2 separate regions of the Homo sapiens genome follow, and region 2 is linked to region 1. Evidence: promoter capture Hi-C in human tissues and cell types (Jung and others, 2019). All regions are on one chromosome and are shown on one strand. The core of a region is centred on a gene start or on the middle of the fragment in contact, and the rest is flanking DNA. Distances in the headings are between cores, read along the strand shown. Region 1 holds the start of TRIML2 (tripartite motif family like 2). Region 2 has its middle 100 kb from the start of LINC01060.

Evidence for each region. Contacts are between HindIII fragments. The study calls those that stand out against the background at their distance.
Region 2: a fragment that was not itself captured here is called in contact with the fragment with the promoter of TRIML2 in region 1 in 2 of the 25 tissues and cell types used here (IMR-90 fibroblasts and mesendoderm cells).

What each region holds. Positions count from the first base shown.
Region 1 is chr4:188,107,511-188,111,691 of GRCh38, forward strand. TRIML2 (tripartite motif family like 2) reads right to left here and starts at 2,093. Exons shown (of 8, transcript NM_173553.4): 1 at 1,733-2,093. RefSeq lists enhancers at 87-605, 606-1,124. The HindIII fragment of the contact is 13,208 bases long and covers 1-4,181 here.
Region 2 is chr4:188,350,326-188,354,322 of GRCh38, forward strand. No RefSeq gene overlaps it. Among named protein-coding and RNA genes, the nearest start is that of LINC01060, 100 kb to the right of the region's middle. The HindIII fragment of the contact is 3,273 bases long and covers 164-3,436 here.

The sequences.
Region 1 (4,181 bases), core at 843-3,342:
ATCCATAATTTTGATATGTTTTGTCAGTTTCCCAAGCACAAAAGTTGTACAATTTTGCACTCCAAGCAACAAATTAAAAAGATGTTAAACTTTTGGATCATTGCCCACTGGCTGGGTGAGAAATAGTGTATTCATATATTTTCAACTTCCATCTGTTATATTATTAATATGTCTAAGCCTTTTATTTTCATATGCTAAAAAACCATTTTCACTTCTTTTGCTGTGAAGTCTATGTTCAAGCCTCTCTCTCAGTTTATTCCATCAGGTTTGGCCTTTTTGGAGGGAGGGGTCAATTTTAAGAGAGAGCTATAGATCCAAGTTCCTGTAAATTGTGTGAGTTGCAAATACTTTCTCCCTCCTTCCTTGTTTTTGATGCTCTCATCCTTTCTTCTGCTTAGGTCTTTGAAATCCCTGCTGGTTTCCCGTGTCTTAGGTCCCTGAACATGTCCGAGATGACTCCACTGAGTCACCAAAACAAAGAAATTCACCAACTCAAATTTTTCCTTGAGCTCTCAGCAGCAGTTAACATAGCTGACCACACCCTTCTTCCTAGAATGTTTTCTTCTCTCATCTGTCTGCAGCTGACATTCCTCTAACTTGTCTGGTCTTGTTCTCCGTGGCCTTTTCTGGTCCCACATCCTCTGAACCTCTCAATCTTGGGGTGCTTCAAGGTTGAGTTCTGGTCTCCCAGTCCTGGTCTCTCCCTAGGTAATCTTACTCGTTTCTGAAGATTTAAGTTCCATTCTCCGATTTCAATCTCCTGCCCAATTCCCAACATTTTTGCAATAGAATGTCTAAGGAGCACTCAAAATTAACATATCTAAAGCCGCTCAGGATCTCAACCCAGTGGCTCTCTTCCCCCAAACTCATTCCTTTAGAGCCACAGTTTAAGCCTTCCTTTCACCAATTCAACTATTGTTTTCCAAATTTATATTCTGTCCTGCCCTCCTCGTCCATCTCCAGCTCCTCTCTGCTCAACCACCAGAATACTATTTTAAAACCAAAACCAAGTGAGCAGGTTTGTGGTCACTTTCTATGGCATTAGAGTAAGATCGAAGTGGGTAATAACCCCGTCCTATACAATCTGGCCTCCTGCCTTCTTCTGATCTCTCTATAGCTTTCCCCCATCACTGTCAATCTAGCTGCCTCTAATTCATCACAGCCCTTCCCCCTTCCGTGGCCAACAGAGCTCTTCTCTCATATTTTTGCAATTCCAGCTGCCTCTTCTTTCTTCTCTTCAGTTCTCAGCTCAAATGTCTTCCCAAGAGAGACCTTTCCATCACTACTCAATTTGAAATACCTTCCCACTACTCATCTCCTTATTTTATTTTCTTAGTAGCGAAAAGATTTTATCTTTCTATGAACAAGTTTACTTGTGGGTCACTCTCCATCCATAAGAAACTAAGTCCTTGAGATGCCCTGTGTCTACATCTGACATACTCGATGCACAATAAATATTGTAAACGATATTTTATGTTAAACCAGTAAAAATTGAAGGTGTAATGAGAGAGGGACAGAGACTAAATATTTTTACAGAAACAGCAAAGGAAAATTGACGAATTAAGTCCCCAGCATGTTGTCTACCCTTATTTTGTTTTTCCTAATATTTTTCTTCAGGCTTTTTCCTGATAACACACAGATACACACACACACACATAGATTCTAAGATCAAGTTTAGAAATCTAAAGAAACAATTATTAAGAAAATGATCTATAGAGAAAATCTCACTTACTTTCTTTGTAGCAATCCTGGGTATTTCCTTTTTTTTTTTTTTTTTTTTTTTTGAGACAGGGTCTTGCTCTGTCACCCAGGCTGGAATGCAGTGGCGCAATCTCGGCTCACTACAGCCTCGAGCTCCCAGGCTCAAGTGATTCTCCCACCTTGACCTCCTGAGTAGCTGGGATTACAGGCGCTGCACGACCACACCCGGCTAATTTTTGTATTTTTTGTAGAGACGGGGTTTCAGTATTTTTCCCAGGCTGGTCTTGAACTCCTGGGCTCAAGCAATCTGCCTGCTTCAGCCTCCCAAAGTACTGGGATTACAGGAATGAGTCACCACACCGAACCAAGGTATTTCCTTTAGGGAAAAAGCTGGAACAGTGGAGACTGAAGAGATTTTATCTGTTCAATTCCTCCCTCAGCCCCGCCCTCACACCATCAGGAAGGCGTCTGTGAAGTTTCTTATCATATTCACACAATTAATCTCATTAGAACCACCTGAGTTTATTAAAACGCAAGCCTCTTCACAGGGTCTCTGATTCCAGAAATCTACGGTGGGGTCCGTAATTTACATTTTTAATGGACTCCCAGAAAATGCTTAATAGCCCTGACCTTGGTTGGATAAATATCTTGTTTTATCTCCAGTGCCATGTACAGTGCCTAACACCTCTAGCTCCTTAAGGTTTGGGGTTTTCTTTCTTAATGAATCTAGTGTATATTGACAATTTCACAGGAAAGAAGCCTTCGAGCTAACACTCAAGACTGTGTTTGTTCCTTAGTAGAAAATAATGCCTGACTTGTTAGTTTCTAGAACGTTTGCTGGAGAAGTGTTCATTCCAGTATCTGTGGAAAGAAAAACCAAGAGTAGGGATAACTGCCTATGGAATCTGTCACAGATGGGAGGTCAGGGAACAATCCCAGATAATTCATACTTGATATTTGGCTTCAGTGAGGAGGAACTCTTCACAGCTTTCTAAGTTTTATAGTTTTGTCCCCGAGGGTTTTTATTGCATCAGTCAGTCAATCCCCTGCTAATCAAACCAGGGAGTTTTTTTCTTTATGCTGCTGACAGGATAATGAGAATTCTTCTGCTTTGCTTATCTGATCTTTCAGAACCTGGTTCTACCTTATGGAATCTCAATACACCGTTTCTCTTTTTCTTTTTTCTTTCTTTTTTTTTTTTTTTAGATGAGAGTCTCACTCTGTTGCCTAGGCTGGAGTGCGGTGGAGCGATCTCGGCTCACTGCAGCCTCCGCCTCCCAGGTTCAAGCAATTTTCCCACTTCAGCCTCCCGAGTAGCTGGGATTATAGGCGCCCACCACACCCAGCTAATTTTTGTATTTTTAGTGGAGATGGGGTTTCACCATGTTGGCCAGGCTGGTCTCAAACTCCTGACCTCAGGTGACCCACCCTCCTTGGCCTCCAAAAGTTCTGGCCACCGCGCCTGGCCATACACCCTTTCTCTTATCTCAGATGATTACCTACACCCACTCTCTTTTCCAAAACCCAATTCCCCAGCTTTCTTCAAATAGACCACATTTATTCCTGTGCCCCCTCCCCTCCTCAGCCAGTCCATCCTCCTTTACTTCTCTTATTTTTCTAATCCAATCTTCCTTTCTCTTCTAAGCCTGGGTACGGCCAACGTCTGTGAAGATACTCACACATACTTGTTGTCAGATACTCTGTCATTTACTCTCACCATCCCTTGAGCTTTCATAACTCTTGAGCTTACTCATCTTGACAAGAAAACTTTGTAATCTTTGAATCAAATGGAAAATAAACATCAAGCATATTGTCAGGTTTTGAAGTCTCTTAAAGCCTGTTTTAGAGTATTAAATGCTTAAATAAATACTTATTAAAGCCTGTTTTACTATTAAATAAATATTTATTAATAATTAAATTATTAATTCTAGAAGAGTCAATATTTTAAGATAATTCTAAAAACATTACAAAAAAGTGTGCTAAACCCTTATTTACTGTTACATGCCCCACCTGTTGCATGCTCCAACCCCGTGAGGTACATCTGCAGCTGATGAAGTAGATGACGTAGAGATTAAGTCACGGGATTAAGTAATTGACCAAGAGCACTGGGTGCAGAAAATTGAAGATATGGAATTTGAATCGGGTGCCAAATTTCATGATATTTCCTTATTATAATTATTTGTCCTTATTAAATATTAATCAAATGGCTTGACAATTTACAAAAAAGATGCCTCAAATTTGTATGACAATTTATCACGAGATGCTTTCATAGGGCTAGAGTAATCACATTACAAGGAACACAGATCATTTTAAGGTAGTTAGATTTTTCATAGGAAAACTTTTCATTAAAATGAAAATCCTGAAGAAATGTAGTTTTTTTTCACTGTCAAAGAACAAATACAATTATGAATGAGTGAGTCATTGTTCTCCTGAGTCATTTCATGAACTTATAACAGTCGTATCCCAGCCGGGCACTCTGG
Region 2 (3,997 bases), core at 550-3,049, 240 kb after region 1:
TCTGTAGAAAAGCTTGAACATTACTAGTTCTCAGAGTGATGCTGCATAATACAAGAAGAGGCTACCTTCATTTGATGTTCCTATGATTACTGTATGTCCGCCTCTACCGTGATACCGACTTGCTAAGGATTGCTAACATTTAGGCATACTTGCATCGTAACAACTTAACAGTTTAACTTTGACTACAAAGGCCAGTGAAGGGATCGTCTACTATAATTTTCAATTACGTTGAAATGTTTCCACAATAACTATCTTTAAACACTTTATGTGTCTAGAAATGCAGGTTACTTGGTGAAATCTAATCTCGATGGAAAGCTTTGATGCTCTGTATCAAATGAAAACCAATTTAAGCCATCTATGCTGCACATTAATATTAAGCAATTATATTAACTGAAAGCACTGTGAATACATGAATTGCTTTCATTAAAAAAAGATTTCCTTAATTACCTTCTAAGCAAATATTCTCCACTAAACTTTTTAAGTATTTGCAATACTCAAATAAAATAGGTAATGGAGATGTCAATTTACATGAAATACATATTTCTAAAAATCTAACTTGCATTGCAAGTTTAAAATATGTTTACAAAATCCAGAATTAAATATAATTTTATAAGGCTATTTTTATTTGGATACTGTTATGTTATTCGGAGAAAACAGTATTTCTTGTTTTTCATCCTTTACTAGCTCAAGGCTTGTCAGGATGCCACTCATATCATATTGTGATGTTATGATGTATGCCCATACCACTTTCTGTCTCAAGGAAAAGGTCTGTCTCCTCTTATCCACATTGGCCGCTGTGCCCATCTCTCTGGTTTCCATCTTGCTGGCACTAAGGTAGCCCCTCATGTTCACAGAGAAGAAAGGCTGAGGAGGTACATGGGTTTTTTGTGACCGCAAGCTTTTCAGTGCTTGTGTGACTCTAACTTCTGTGAAATTTCTTGATTTTCCTCAAGTAGGACTTCAGGGATTCATGGAATATAAAAGATGGAGCTAAAACAGACTATTTCCCACATGTTCTTAGGCTTAAATGTTGAAGTGTAAATGTTTAAGTTGTATTTATTTATTTAGGACAAATTATAATTGCATGTAATTGTGGGGTGCACAATGATGTTGTGATATATGCCCACAGTTTAGAATGATTGAATCAAGCCAATGACATATCCATCTTTTTTTTTTTTTGACAGAGTCTTGCTCTGTTGCCCAGGCTGGGGTGCAGTGGCAGGATCTCAGCTCACTGCAACCTCCACTTCCTGGGTTCAAGTGATTCTCCTGCCTCAGCCTCCCAAGTAGCTGGGACTACAGGTGCACACCACCATGCCCAGATAATTTTTTTTTTTGTATTTTTTAATAGAGATGGGGTTTCACCATGTTTGCCAGGATGGTCTTGATCTCTTGACCTTGTGAGCTGGCTGCCTCAGCCTCCCAAAGTGCTGGGATTACAGGCGTGAGCCACTGTGCCCGGCTCCCCATTTTAAATATATATCATTTATTCCTCCTGTTTAAAGCTTAATACCCTTTGACCGACACCTCTCATTTTCCCTACCCTCCAGCCTCTGGTAACCACCGTTCTACCCTCTGCTTCTGTGCATTTGACTTTTTAAAATTCCACATGAGTGAGATCACAGGGTATTTGTCTCTGTGCCTCACTTATTTCACTTAACATAGTGTCCTCCAGGTTCATCCATGTTGTAAATGAAATAATTTCTTTCTTTTTCTTTTTTTCTTTCTTTTTTTTTTAAGGCTGAAGAACATTCCATTGTGTGTATATATCTCATTTTCTTTTTCCATTTATCCATTGATTGACACTTAGATTGATTCCATGACTTGGCTATTGTAAACAATGCTGCAACAAACATGGAAGTGCTGATATCTCTTAGACATATTAATTTCAAGTCCTAAGGGTATATAGTTAGAATAGGGTTGCTGGAACATATGGTAATCCTATTTTTAGTTTTCTAAGGGAACTCCACACTGTTTTCTGTAATGGCTGTGCTAATTTATATTCCCACCAGTGTACAGTGTTCCCTTTTCTTCACATCCTCACCATCACGGTTGTTATCTTTCCTCTTTTTGTTGCTAGCTCTTCTGATAGATGATATATCATAGTTTTAATTTCTATTTCCCTAATGATTAGTGATATTGAGCATTATATATATATATATATATATATATATATATATATATGTATATATGTTGGCCATTTGCATGTCTTATTTTGAAAAATATTTATTCAGTTTCTTTGCCCATTTTTAAATTGGATTTTTTTTTTTTGCTATTAACTTTTTTGAGCTCCTTATACATTTGGGGTATTAGTTCCTTATATAATGTATTGCTTGTAAATTTTTTTCTGATCTGCAGATTGTCTCTTCACTTGTAGTTGTTTTCTTTGTTGTGCAAATATTTTTTAGTTAACTGTAATCTTACTTGTCTATTTTTGTTTTTGTTATTTGATCTTTTGGAGGTCAAATAAAAAAAAAAAAAAAAAAACATTGCCCAGACCAGTGTTGTGTAGTTTTCTCCTCTGTGTTTTCCTAGTACTTTTTATAATTTCAGGTTTTACATTTAAATCTTTAATTCATTTTGGGTTTATTTTTGTATACTCTGTGAGATAGGGTGGGACTAATATTATTCGTCTGCATGTGAATATCTCATTTTCTCATTGTCCTTTATGGGAGAGATTGTTCTTTACGCATTGTGTGTGTTCTTGGCATTTTTATCAAAGTCAATTGACGAAGGGCATCGGTTCATTTTTGTGCTCTCTATTCTGTTCCATTGGTCAGTGTTTCTGTTTATACTAGTGTCATGCTGTTTTAATTACTATGGCTTTGTAATATAGTTTGAAGTCAGGTAGTGTAAGACCTCTAGCTTTGTTCATTTTGTTCAAGACTGCCTTGGCTAGTCAGGCTTTTTTGTGTGTGTTTCTGTATGAATTTTACGATTTTTTTTTCTATTTCCATTTGCATGAAATATCTTTTTCTGTTACTTCACTTTTAGTCTATTTGAATCTTTAATAGTGAGGTAAGTCTCTTGTAGGTAGCATATAGTTGGGTTTTGTTTTTATACATCCTATTTCTTTGTCAAGCTTCTCATTTTGTATTATTTTTCATATTTTATTTAATCTTCTATCCTTATATTCTTATAGCTGACTGAACTTCTTTAAGAGAACTATATTAATTTTTTGTTAGTTATTTCATAGCTCTCCATTTCTTTAGGGCCTATTGTTGAAGCTTTATTTGTTTCTTCTGGAGATGTCATTATTCTGATTCTTCATAATCTTTGTGTCCTTACATTGGTGCTTGTGCATTTGAAGAAATGGTCACCTCTTCCGTCCTTTACAGGTATTCTTTGGCAAAGTTATACTCTCACTGAAGTCTAGCCTGTGATTCTAGGTCGGCTACCTGGTAATGGCGCTAAGCAGGTAGAGCTTGGCGTTAGACTCTCTAGCTTGCTGAGCCTCTGCCTTTGCTTTGAGATCAGATGGATCTGAGCTCTTCTATTTGGTGAGACCACTGGCTGGGTTCTGCAATCAGGCAGAGATGGTAGCTGGGTCCTCTGATTGGATGAAGACACAATGTGTATTCCCTAGTTAAATGGTACTGCTGTTTGACTTTTGGAATTTGGGTAGGGCTGCAGATTGGGTCCTAAGCTTAGGCTGAGTCACTGATTGGGAGAGTCAGGATCAGCTGCTAAGTTTGGCAGAAATGCACAATATTGAGGTTTACTTCCCTGCCTGGATGTAGCTTTGGTGTGGGATTTGAGGTTGAGGTGAGCTGCTATTTGAACTCCCAGACTGGGGTGGTCTAGCCCCTGTATGTAGCCAAGATATGCCATGGTGGGTGTCTCACTCCATGAGCAGGGTCTTCTTGGGTCTGGTTCTTGGGATGGACTTTTAGGTTGAGCCAAACTCCTCTTAAATGCCCAGGTGGTGCAAGTATAGTCCCTGTGCTTTGCCAAAATACTCTGTGGTAGGTATCTCTCTTCTCAGCAGGAGGAAGTT